Linked DNA regions of Homo sapiens: regions 1 and 2 are each linked to region 3. The links are contacts of gene promoters, found by promoter capture Hi-C in blood cells and fetal thymus (Javierre and others, 2016). All regions are on one chromosome and are shown on one strand. The core of a region is centred on a gene start or on the middle of the fragment in contact, and the rest is flanking DNA. Distances in the headings are between cores, read along the strand shown.

The links. The method cuts DNA at HindIII sites, captures the fragments that hold promoters and counts their contacts. A CHiCAGO score of 5 or more calls a contact.
Region 1: a fragment that was not itself captured here is called in contact with the fragment with the promoter of CDK18 in region 3 in 6 of 17 cell types (endothelial precursors, total CD8 T cells, naive B cells and 3 more); the score reaches 8.4 in endothelial precursors.
Region 2: a contact is called between a fragment that was not itself captured here and the fragment with the promoter of CDK18 in region 3, in 2 of 17 cell types (naive B cells and total B cells). The highest score is 5.4, in naive B cells.

Annotation. Positions count from the first base shown.
Region 1 is chr1:205,359,647-205,363,018 of GRCh38, forward strand. No RefSeq gene overlaps it. Among named protein-coding and RNA genes, the nearest start is that of KLHDC8A, 4.4 kb to the left of the region's middle. The HindIII fragment of the contact is 1,295 bases long and covers 1,433-2,727 here.
Region 2 is chr1:205,258,777-205,262,499 of GRCh38, forward strand. The region is part of intron 2 of TMCC2 (transmembrane and coiled-coil domain family 2); the gene reads left to right. Among named protein-coding and RNA genes, the nearest start is that of TMCC2-AS1, 23 kb to the left of the region's middle. The HindIII fragment of the contact is 1,978 bases long and covers 403-2,380 here.
Region 3 is chr1:205,503,151-205,506,592 of GRCh38, forward strand. It overlaps CDK18 (cyclin dependent kinase 18), which reads left to right and starts at 1,519. Exons shown (of 16, transcript NM_212502.3): 1 at 1,519-1,646. The HindIII fragment of the contact is 14,965 bases long and covers 1-3,442 here.

The DNA.
Region 1 (3,372 bases), core at 830-3,329, 140 kb before region 3:
GATGAAATCCTTTCAGGATCATGGCTCTCATCCCTCCAGAAATGTTTATATCTAGGGACAGGGAAGAAAGGAGGATGAGTTCAGATTGTGATAACTAAGATAATCACTAAGATGATTGTAGCCCTACATTACAATTCTCAATGTCAAACCCTGGAGATGAAGAGGTCTAACATTTAGCCCAGAACCTTTCCAGTGATGAAAACAAACAACGACTCTTTTGGCATTGGTCTGATATTCAGTGACAGAATAAAGTTTGTTCCAGCCGAAATTAGCAGGCTAGGGTCCAGGTTAAAATGCAAACAAAGAAAGCAGCCCAGAGGCAGCTGGGATTCTGGGACACAGATAAGTCACAAAGCTGGGTTTATCTGCAGGGTTCAGGATTGATCAGCTCAGCGTATATTTCCAAGGCTCTTCTCTACTCAGCCACCCCTCCCAGCTCAAAAAACAAGAGGCCCACACCAAAATATAAAAAGGTGCTGGATCTAAAATCCTGCCTAATTTAAGCTCTGCTCACAAAGGAGGCCAGAGAGCAGAGGGAGGGGTGGAAATCAAATAAGTAAATGTCAGCCCTGCAGTTGGGTAGAAGCCATTAGCCAGGCAGAGCATCCAATTAGAAGCCATTGAATTAGAGCAGTGAAAGAAGGGCCTCACGTCAGAGGGCACTGCGGGGAGGGCCGGCACAAGTGGGCAGGAAGGAACGCGGGGTGGCGATCAATGGAGGATTACCGGAAGATGTGCAAATGGCAGGAACAGATGCCTTCCAAATGACAGGGCACCCGGTCCAGATACTCTACATAAAATGCCCACATGGTTCCTTTGTCCTCCCCCAAATCCTGTCTGAGGGAGTCCAGCCATCTCATGGGCTATTTTGGAAAACACTGCTCCCTTTTGCCTCAACCCAGAGATAAAATGGGCAGCTCTCAGCCACTCTCGGATTAATCTGAACAGACAAAGAAGGGGAGCAAATCCCTTGGCAAATGGTGCCTGGGAGATTTCATTTTTCCGCTTTGCAGTACAAACCTACTCAAACAGATACTAAAATACAAAGCGAAGTTTGTTCACATGGAGATGTTTTTATTTAAAACTATAATATTATTTTATTTTGTAATCAGTAATTGTCAATGCTCAATCTTTTTTTTTTTAACAAATTCTTATTTCCTTGTTCAGAGAAGAAAAAGATTCACATTTCCTTCCTTTCTCCTAAATTAGAAGATTTCAGATTCAGTCTCTTAGAAGCCACGTAATTTGCCTGTGATGCCCATGTCCCACTGATCCTAGAACTTTAGGGAGAAAAGTCCACTGTGAAAATAAAAATAGAAAGTAGTTCTGATTTAGGACAATCGAGTCTTACATATTCATTTAACAACCAGCTAATGGCACCTCCTGAGTACGCAGCATGAGCTGGCAGAGCACATTGGTCTGGTGCTCAGGAAGCTTCCAGGCTCAGGCAGGGTTAAGACACAAGGCTAGCCTCTGCAGAGTGGAAGGAAGCATGTGTTACGGGACACACAATGGGTCTGCTCTTTGCGCTTTGGGAGTGGAGAGGAAGAAGTAATCATAACTATCAGAGGATGCCAGAGAAGACCTTGTGGGAGAGAGGGTCTTTGAGCAGGGCCTTTGAAGAGGTGTCAGATTTGGGTCAAAATGAGTCGGGGGCATTCCAAGAAGATACAGTGCATCGATGTTGCAGACTGGAATGTGGTTGAGACTAACTGTAGGGCTACCAGATACAACAGAGGATGCCCAGTTAAATCTGAATATTTAGGATATCCCAAAAAACGATTTGTTGTTTAAAATTAAGATTTAAGTGAGTATCTTTTACCCACTGTCTATTTTTTACCCCGTCTATTATTCCTAGAAATTTCTCTTTGTTTTTGGTAGAGTTGGGATCTCACTTTGTTGCCCAGGCTGGTCTTGAACTCCTGGACTCGATTGAACCTCCCACCTCAGCCTTCCAAAGTGCTGGGATTACAAGCATGAGCCACCACGCCCGGCCCAACATTTTTATTTCCTGAATCTGGCAACCTCATGACAAGAGCAAATGACCACTCTCATACTTGGAGTTTCCTGCAGCCTGCCCAACTCCAAAGTTGCCTTGTGAGTTCTGAAAGGAACTGGGAATGGCAGCCCTTGCTTGGATGTCATGTCAGAGGACTAGGCACAGTGGTTGACACCTGTAATCCCAGCTCTTGGGAGACTGAGGCAGGAAAATGCTTGAAGCCAGGAGTTTTAGACAAGCCTGGGCACCATAGTGAGACACCTGCAACACCTCCCACCCCCAATCTCTATCAAAAAAAATTAGCCAGGGACAGTTAAATGTGCGTGTAGTCCTAGCTGCTCAGGAGGCTGAGGCAAGAGGATCACTTGAGCCCAGGAGTTCAAGGCTGCAGTGAGCTATGATCACACATCATTGCATTCTAACCTGGGAGATAGAGTGAGACCATGTCTCTTAAAAAAAAAAAAAAAAAAAGAGCGGCGCTTCTCAGAAGGCAGTAGAGAGACCTTGAAAGTTTTTGAGCCAAGAAGTGAAGTGATCAGAGCAGTGTTTGGAATATTAATCTGGCAGCAGCATAAACAGTGTTTAGTCCAGGAGAAGAGTTTCATGATAAGGAGATCACATAGTCTTCCTTTGTGATTATTTGTGGGGCACCCACTATGTGCCAGACACAATGCTAAACACCAGGGGCATGATGGTGAAAAAGAAATGTATAGTTCCTCTCTTAGTGAAGCTTATGAATAAATTAACAAGCAATTGATTTCAATAAAGGGAGGTGCATTTCATCAGAGAAGAACTTGGCCTACTTAGAAGATTATCAAAATAGCCTACTGGTGAGAAGATGAGGACCTAAATTAGGGTCATGGAAATGGGAATGTAAGATGTTTTTGCAAAGCGAGATTTTAGAATATATTCAGGACATGATCAAGTGATTTGACTCTTAATTACAAGCATAGTTGGAGCAGGAGAAAAACAGATCATTAAAATCCAGAGATAACCCCAAATGCCAATTACTCAGGCGTTTCATGCTTCTCTCTCATCCATGGGTTATGACTGTATTTGTGTCTTTATGCACACACAAAACAGTAAAGCATAGTGGTTTCGAGAAAGAGCTTCAAAGACCTAAATGTAAGAGCTAAAACTATACAACTCTCCGGAGAAAACATAAGCATAAATCTTAATGACCTTGGAGTAGGCAATGTTTTCTTAGATATGACAGGAAAGCGCAAGCAACAAAAGGAAAAAATAGATACGTTGTAGCATGTATCAGTACTTTCTTTTTTGCCTAACAATATTTCATTGTATGAATATTCCATGTTTTATTTATCTATTCATCAGTTGACAGGATTTCTTTTAGGGCTGATAAAATGTTCTAA
Region 2 (3,723 bases), core at 142-2,641, 240 kb before region 3:
GTAAGGTCACATGACCTCTTTGGGTTGAAGGATTTTAGCTGGCTGTAGGCTTTCCTCTCCATCCTAGTCTGGTTGACCTCCCCTTCCATCTGAGAATGGGTAGAAAAAGGGAATCTGAGCGTTCTTTATCCCGAGAGGGCCACTGAAATCAGAGTCACGGGGCAGCAGTCAGCAGATTGAAGCATCTCTGCTGAGTCACCCAGGCCTGCCAGCCCCGGGGCCGCACTCGCCTGCTGGGCTCTGACCCACTGGGAGCCCAGACCTTGCTCCCAGGAGCGGTGTTCTGCACAGGCCTGGGCCTGCTTGTCTAGACCCATAGACAAGCCAGGGTTGACACCTGACTCCATTGTCAGGATGACTGGGCTGCCCTGCTTTCCTAAAGGGAAGCATAGGAACCCCCAAAGCTTTTTCTTTGTCTTTTTTTTTTTTCCATCTAAGAGTGACCTTATATTGTCTTTCCAACTCCTGAGCAGATGGCTAACATGAGAAGGCCCCTTTCTCCCTGTCAGCCTGCTGTGGGGACCCTAACGGGTTCTTTGCGAGTCTGGGAAGGGGCTGCCTGCCTCAGAGGGAGGAGGGTCAGAGGTACAGCTTTCTCGTGCAGCTGGGAGCACAGGTGTGGAGCACATGTTCCTTGCAAATGGCAGCTGTTTCTGTGGTCTATCTTGAAAACTGCTTAATGCATTTACATTATGAAGAAAGAGAACCACGATTCACATTTCCCAATTTACATAGCTAGTGCCCTTCCCCTCCCTCCACACAGCTTCACTTAAGCCTGGATACTTTCTGTTCCAACAGTGTCTACTGTGTGCCTCCCGGATATCGGGGATCCAGGCTGCTGGGCTAGTGTGTGAGAGGAAGCACCGGTGTCCCATGTCCAGGGCCGGGTTGACACGAGGACACTGAGTTCAGGCCCTGGGAGGAGGTGGAAACCCCAGGAAGTTCCACGGGAGCCAGGGCTGGGAAGCCCTGATCCGGCAGCTCCTTATAATCTGGCAGAGAGCCTAATCCAGCTTCATTTAGTGTTGTGAAAGGGGCCAGGGAGGTGAGTCCGGGGTGCCACCAAGGCCATGTGGAGGGGAGCCCCCAGGTGTGCGTGGGCTGAGGGTAGATCTCACTGGAGCAGGAAGAGGAATAGGGAAAGTTGGGTCTTGGACACTTGAGAGAACGTCCCAGCTCTGGCTTATCCAGACATTTGTCAGCACTTCTCAGCCCTCAGCCTTTGTGTAGAGCAAGATGTAAGGCCCTGGCTGGTAGGGTCCCTGAGCAGGGGGCATTCTGGTGTGGAGGGGGATCATGGAAGAAGTATGACTCTCCCTCCACGGTTCTCCTCTTAGAGCTTGCCCAGCCCATTCACAAGGATTAATCTGGAGTCAGGTACCTGTGGAGTGGCCAGCCTATCTCAGGCAGGTTGGGGTGGGGTGAGGAGGTCATGGTGTGGGGGCCACAACTCCAGGTGTGGTGCTGGTGGCTGGGCATGGATAGGGAGCTGGGTGGCATGGGCCAAACAGGACTCTGTGATGGTCTGGAGAGAGGAGCAGTGGTTCCTGTGTAGCCCACCTGTGCCCTGCTTTGGGCTGGGGAACCTTGGGCATTTCTGCCTGCTACTGACTGGGAGTTGAGTGATCTGGTCTTTTTAGTCAACCAGCTGCACGACAGGGGTATTAGGAGTGTGTTAGGAAGAGCTGCTACCCTACTAAACCTGACACAGTGAGCTGAAGGACCCAGAGACCCTCCTGCATACCCACTCTGTAATGGACAATGGTGGGAGCTGTGGCCCAGGCCAGTGGAGGACCCTGGCCTTCCACACCCAATTGTTGAAACATCACCTCCATCTAGTTCCTAAACATTTTCAGCAACCCCAAGGAAACCCTGTACCCATTAAGCTGTTACTCCCCATTCCTTCCCCCACCCCCACCCCAGCCCCCTGGCAGCCACTAATCAGCTTTCTGTCTCTGTGGATTTAACTGTTCTGGATATTTCATATAATGGAATCATTCATTATGTGGCCTTTCTTGTCTGGTTTGTTTCACTTAGCCTAACATTATTGAGGTTCACCCATGTTGGAGCATTACCGGCACTTTGTTTCTTTCATGGCCGAATAGTATTTCATTGCAAGAAATGTCACATTTTGTTGACCCATTCATCAGTTAATGGACATCTGAGTTATGTCCACCTTTTGGCTATTGTGAATATTGCTGCTATGAGCATTTGTGTACAAATGAGTGTTGAATACTCATTTTCAATTCGTTTGGGAATTGAAAATATCTAGGAGTGGAATTGCTGGGTCATAAAGTAATTCTATGTTAACTTTTTGAGGAACTCCCAAACTGTTTTCCACATCAGCTGTGCTGTTTTATGTTTTAGGTATGTTGCACAAAGCTTCCAATTCCTGCACATGCTCACCAACACTTATTTCCTTTTTTTTTTTTTTTTTTTTTTGAAGCAGGGTCTCACTCTGTTGCCCAGGCTGGAGTGCAGTGGTGTGTGTGATCATAGCTCACTGCAGCCTCGAACTCCTGGGCTCAAGCCATCCTCCTGCCTCAGCTTCCTGAGTAGCTGGGACTACAGGCATGCACCACCACACCTGGCTGTTTTTTTATTTTTTGTAGAGACAGGTCTTGCTGTGTTGCCCAGGCTGGTCTTAAACTCCTGGACTCAAGCAATTTTCCCATTTTGGCCTCCAAAAGTGCTGGGACCACAGGTGTGAGCCGCTGTGTGCAGCCCACTTATTTCCTTTCTAAAAATTACTAGGGGCTGGGCTTGGTGACTCATGCCTGTGGCCCCAGCTACTTAGGAAGCTGAGGTGGGAGGATTGCTTAAGCCTGGGACGTCGAGACTACAGTGATCCACGATCATGCCATTGCACTCCAGTCTAGGCCATGGAGTGAGAACCCGTCTCAAAAAAAAAAAAATTATTATAGTCATTCTAAGGGTGTGAAGCGTCTCTTAATTTGTTCGTATTTGTTTCTAAGCACCTGCTTTATGCCCTTTACTCAGTGTTTCATCTCATCGTCCTGATAGCTCTCAGCTGGTAAGTGACAGAGCCAGGATCTAAATTAGTGCCCAACTCCAACTTTAAAGCCCTTTCCTTTACCTTCCGCAGACCCTGTATCCTGTCTCATGGCTGTTCTTTTTGGCAAGTCTTTCTCCTTTTCTCACCCTCTGTCCTGTTCCAGCACTCTGAACAGCTTTCTCATCTTTTTCTTCTTGTTCACTAATTTTCTTTCCTTTGTTAAAGCATAATCTTTCCTTTGTTAAAGCTGTCCCTATCTGTGTACCAGCTCCTTGGCTCTGTTTACCTTGGTTGCCCTCTCTCCATCGAGTCCTGAAAGGTAGCTGTCACCCTGGGTACATGTGCTGGGGAAGGCAGGGCATGGAGAGCTCCCCACCTTCTTCAGACATGCCAGCTCCCTCCACGGGGAAGGAGAGCAAAGTGATGTTCTGTGATTGGAGACCCAACAGCAGATCCCAGGCATTGTAAACCTCTGTGAGGGGTAGGAAAAAGCCGGCGTCCTGCTGCAGGACTCCCAGGCTGGAATCTTGACCCTGGGGTAGAGAAGAGGGGCTAGCAAGAGGACCAGGATCCCAGCCCAAGGCCCCTCCACACACCAGGCCCAGGAGTGTCTCTTCTCTCATTCCTGGGGATTTCCCAGCCAGCTCCGACTCTGCTTCTCAGAGTTGTAACTAGACAGCTCAGCCTCTCAGGGATCTGGAGGTCTT
Region 3 (3,442 bases), core at 269-2,768:
CCTTGAAATTCTACCCTTTGGCCCCACTCTCTCTAATCCGCCAGTAAACAGTTCCTTGGCCATAGTCCTTCTCCCTTTCCCTCCCTGCCCCTTCCAAACCTCTTTATGGCCTCCTGCTCCCCAGGCTTCTCACCATCCACTGGACTACAGAGCCAGGAGGTTGCTGCACACCTAAAGGCTCTGGATCCATGCACCCCGACAACACTTGGCAGTTTCATTTTTAGGAAGTGCTGTGCCCAGGAAATCTGCATGCCTTGGCAGAGAAAGCGAGGTAAAAAAAAAAAAAAGAGTTGGGAGGCCCTCTGTGAGATGTCAACTACCCACAGGTCACTTTCATGCATGGGCCCAGTGTCTTCCTTCATTCTCCTGTCTCCAGCTGACAGTGGGACCTCAGGCCCATGTCTTCCAGAAGGAAACTGTTCTATTCTCAACAACTCACAGTCCCCAGGGAAAGGGTTCAGGTAGAAGCACATGTACACTGTGGAGCACCCCCTCCTAAGGAGACTTTCCCTGTGGGAGACCCCAGACTGCAGCAGCCAAGCCCTCTGGTAGGGCAGGGGACACAGACTGCCTTGATGAGGTGCCATAGAGCCAAGGCACACCTCCTCTCCTCACAGCCCTCAGGAGGAAGCAGAGATGAGAGGGGCCTGGCGGTGGGGCACTGTGCCCTTCACCCCCATCCCCAGATTTTTGTTTTGTTTTTTTTTTTGATCCTTGAAGTCAGATGATGTGGGTGCAATGGCCATTGGCCTGAGTTCTAATCATGGCTCGCCATGAACTCTTGTGGCACTTTAGGCCAGTTCAATTGCTTTGCTGGGCCTCAGTTTCCCCTTCTGTAAAATGAGAGTGCCACTAGCTGAACTAGCCATTCTGTAACCCTTCTTGGATGATTCTCAAATATCCTGTGGAGTTTAATTCCAAAAGGACAAGTTGAATTATCCTTCGGGGAGGGAAATGTGAATGATGGCTGGTAACAAGGGCTTCATTCAGGTCCTGGAGAGGTGGGAACTTTGTCCGGAAAGGTAAGTGACAAGTCCCACTGGATAGGGTAGAAGGGGAGCCCGAGGGCTACTATTGTCAAGAAAATGACCACCAAAATCTGTCCATGCACATTCGTTCCTAGGGCGCCAGGTACAGGGAGGTACCTAGGAGAGGTAGGAGCACCGCTTTTAGAGACAGGCAGGCACTCTCAGTGTACCCCTGGCGCCTTGGTGTCCTGGGGTGATCCAGTCCAGAAGGCCTCATCCCCTAGCCAAGGCTCTCAGGGCCGGTTTTAGAAACGAAACAGGAAGAGGCACTTGGACCCTGGTTCCCAGAGTGGGAGAAAGGGGTGGGCACCCGGGCAGAGGGAGCCCTGGGGATTGGTAGCGGCTGTGGGCAGGGCGGGAGGGCCGGGGGCGGAGTCAACTTGTACATGTGAAAAACTCTGGCGGGGGCCGGGCATTTTCCTTCCTCCTCCTCCTCCTCCTCCTCCTCCCTCCTCTTCCCCACCTTCCTCCACTCCCTCCCTTCCCCTCCCCTTCTACCTCCTCCTCGGCCAGCTCAGGTTGCAGCTTCTCTGGGGAACTGCTCACCTTTCCGGAGCAGGGGAAGCTGCCCCGTGCCCGGGAGGGAGCGGGCGCACCGCGGCCCCCAGGACACGCGCTGTGAGTCCCGCGGGCGGTGCGCCTGGGAGGAAGGGGGAGGTCGGAGGAGCGGGCACCGCGGCGCCGGGTATAAGGAGCAAAGGTAAGCGGAACGGCTCTTAAAGGCGCAGTTTTGCTTTTGCCCTGAGGCGAGAGGTTGGAGGGAAATACCGGAGCGGCGAGGGGAGAGCAGAGATCACGAGGCGTGATCTGTGTGATACTGTGTTGTGTGTTGAGGGGTGGGGGGTGCCCTCGAAAGGCCACTCGTAAGTTCCAGGTGCTTGAGAGGGAGGGTTATTTTGCAATCTCAGACCCCGCGCCCCCTTAGGGAGTCTCCATCTGGGATCACTTTGGCCCCTGGGCTCCCGTCTGAACCCTACAAAGCAAAGTTTTCCACCCAGTCCGGAACCAGGCGCTTTCTAAGCTCCCTTCATTCTGGGAAGGGCAAGGGTCAGGAGTCTCCAGGGACCAAAGGACCCGAGAGTGTGGGGCCACATCGCTGCCTTGAAGGGCTTCCTGGGCTCTGGTGAACTTTCCAGAGCGGCAGGCAGGGGGTGGGAGGCCGGAGCCCTGGGAAGAACGTGGAAGGACACGTGAAGCCCTGCAGGTCCCAGTTCTGGGGGAGGCAGGGGTCTGGGGAATGCTGCTGCTTCTCTCTTTCCACCCCGGAAGACCAAAGGGGCAGTGCCCCCCTCCACCCCTCATCAACAGGCGACAGAGGGTTAATGCAGCAGAGGGAAAGGAGGCTGGGTGGGGCCGGGGGGAGTGGGCGGTGACCTGTTGGGCTAAGGAGATGTGCCTTGAGGATTCTGCTGTAGTTGAGGGACACCATCAGGAATCTGAAATCCAAAATCGGGTCTGGACTGGAGGCCTCTGTTTTCGCCCTGTGGGGGGCGGGGATTCCCTGAAGGTGTCTGCAGACCTTGTGCTGGGTGGGAGTTGGGCTGCAGAAACAGTGAGGGGTTTTCTGTGCTGCAGGGTCAGCACCCTCCTAGGCACCAGCCCTGCCTCTCTTCATTCTCTCTGGGCACCTCCCGGCAGTCGGGGTGGGAGGATTGACACTGTGGGAGTGAGAGGCCCTGGAACCTCTTCCGCGCTATCTGCTACTGTCTCCCCTTCTTCCCCACCCCTAGCCCAGCCCTCGGCAGTTCCCCAGCTGTAGCCTGGGCCCTGTGACTCACTAACACCACCGGCTTGCCCCTCCTGTGTCAGCACCCAGTGAGCTTCGGCATGTTCGCGTGGCATTCCCCACCCGGGCATGGGCATGCAGCACATTCCTGGACACGGGCCTGAGAGGATGCCTGGAGCGCCTGGTGGACTGGCACGTCCTCAGAGATCCCCTGCCTTTAGCCTGGCCTTGGGAGGGGCCTGGGAAAACGGTGCTGAGGGTGCTGAGGGTCGGTGGAGTACAGGGCGACACTGGCTCCAGGTCCGGGTTTGCATCCTGAAGGCGTTCCAGAGAGAGGGTCACCTTGCCACAGCAAAGCTGCTATCTCGGGTTACCCTTTCCCAGCCACCTCTTGTGCAGCTGAGGAGGCTGTGGGGCTGACCCCTCCCCCACCCTTAATCTGGGGTGTACCTGACCATTGGGTTCCCAGGACTCTCCCCACTGGGTCCCCAGGACTCTCCCCATACCCTGCCAGGAGAATGGAAGAAGCTCTCCACGCGTGCCAGAAGAAGTTCTTCCCAAACTTATCGGGGGTGCCAGAGGCAGAGTAGACAAGCCTTAGTGGCCACCATTTGTTGAATATCTACTGTGCGCCAAGCAGTGCGTCACAACTTTATGAAGTAGGTATTATTATCATCCCCATTTTACA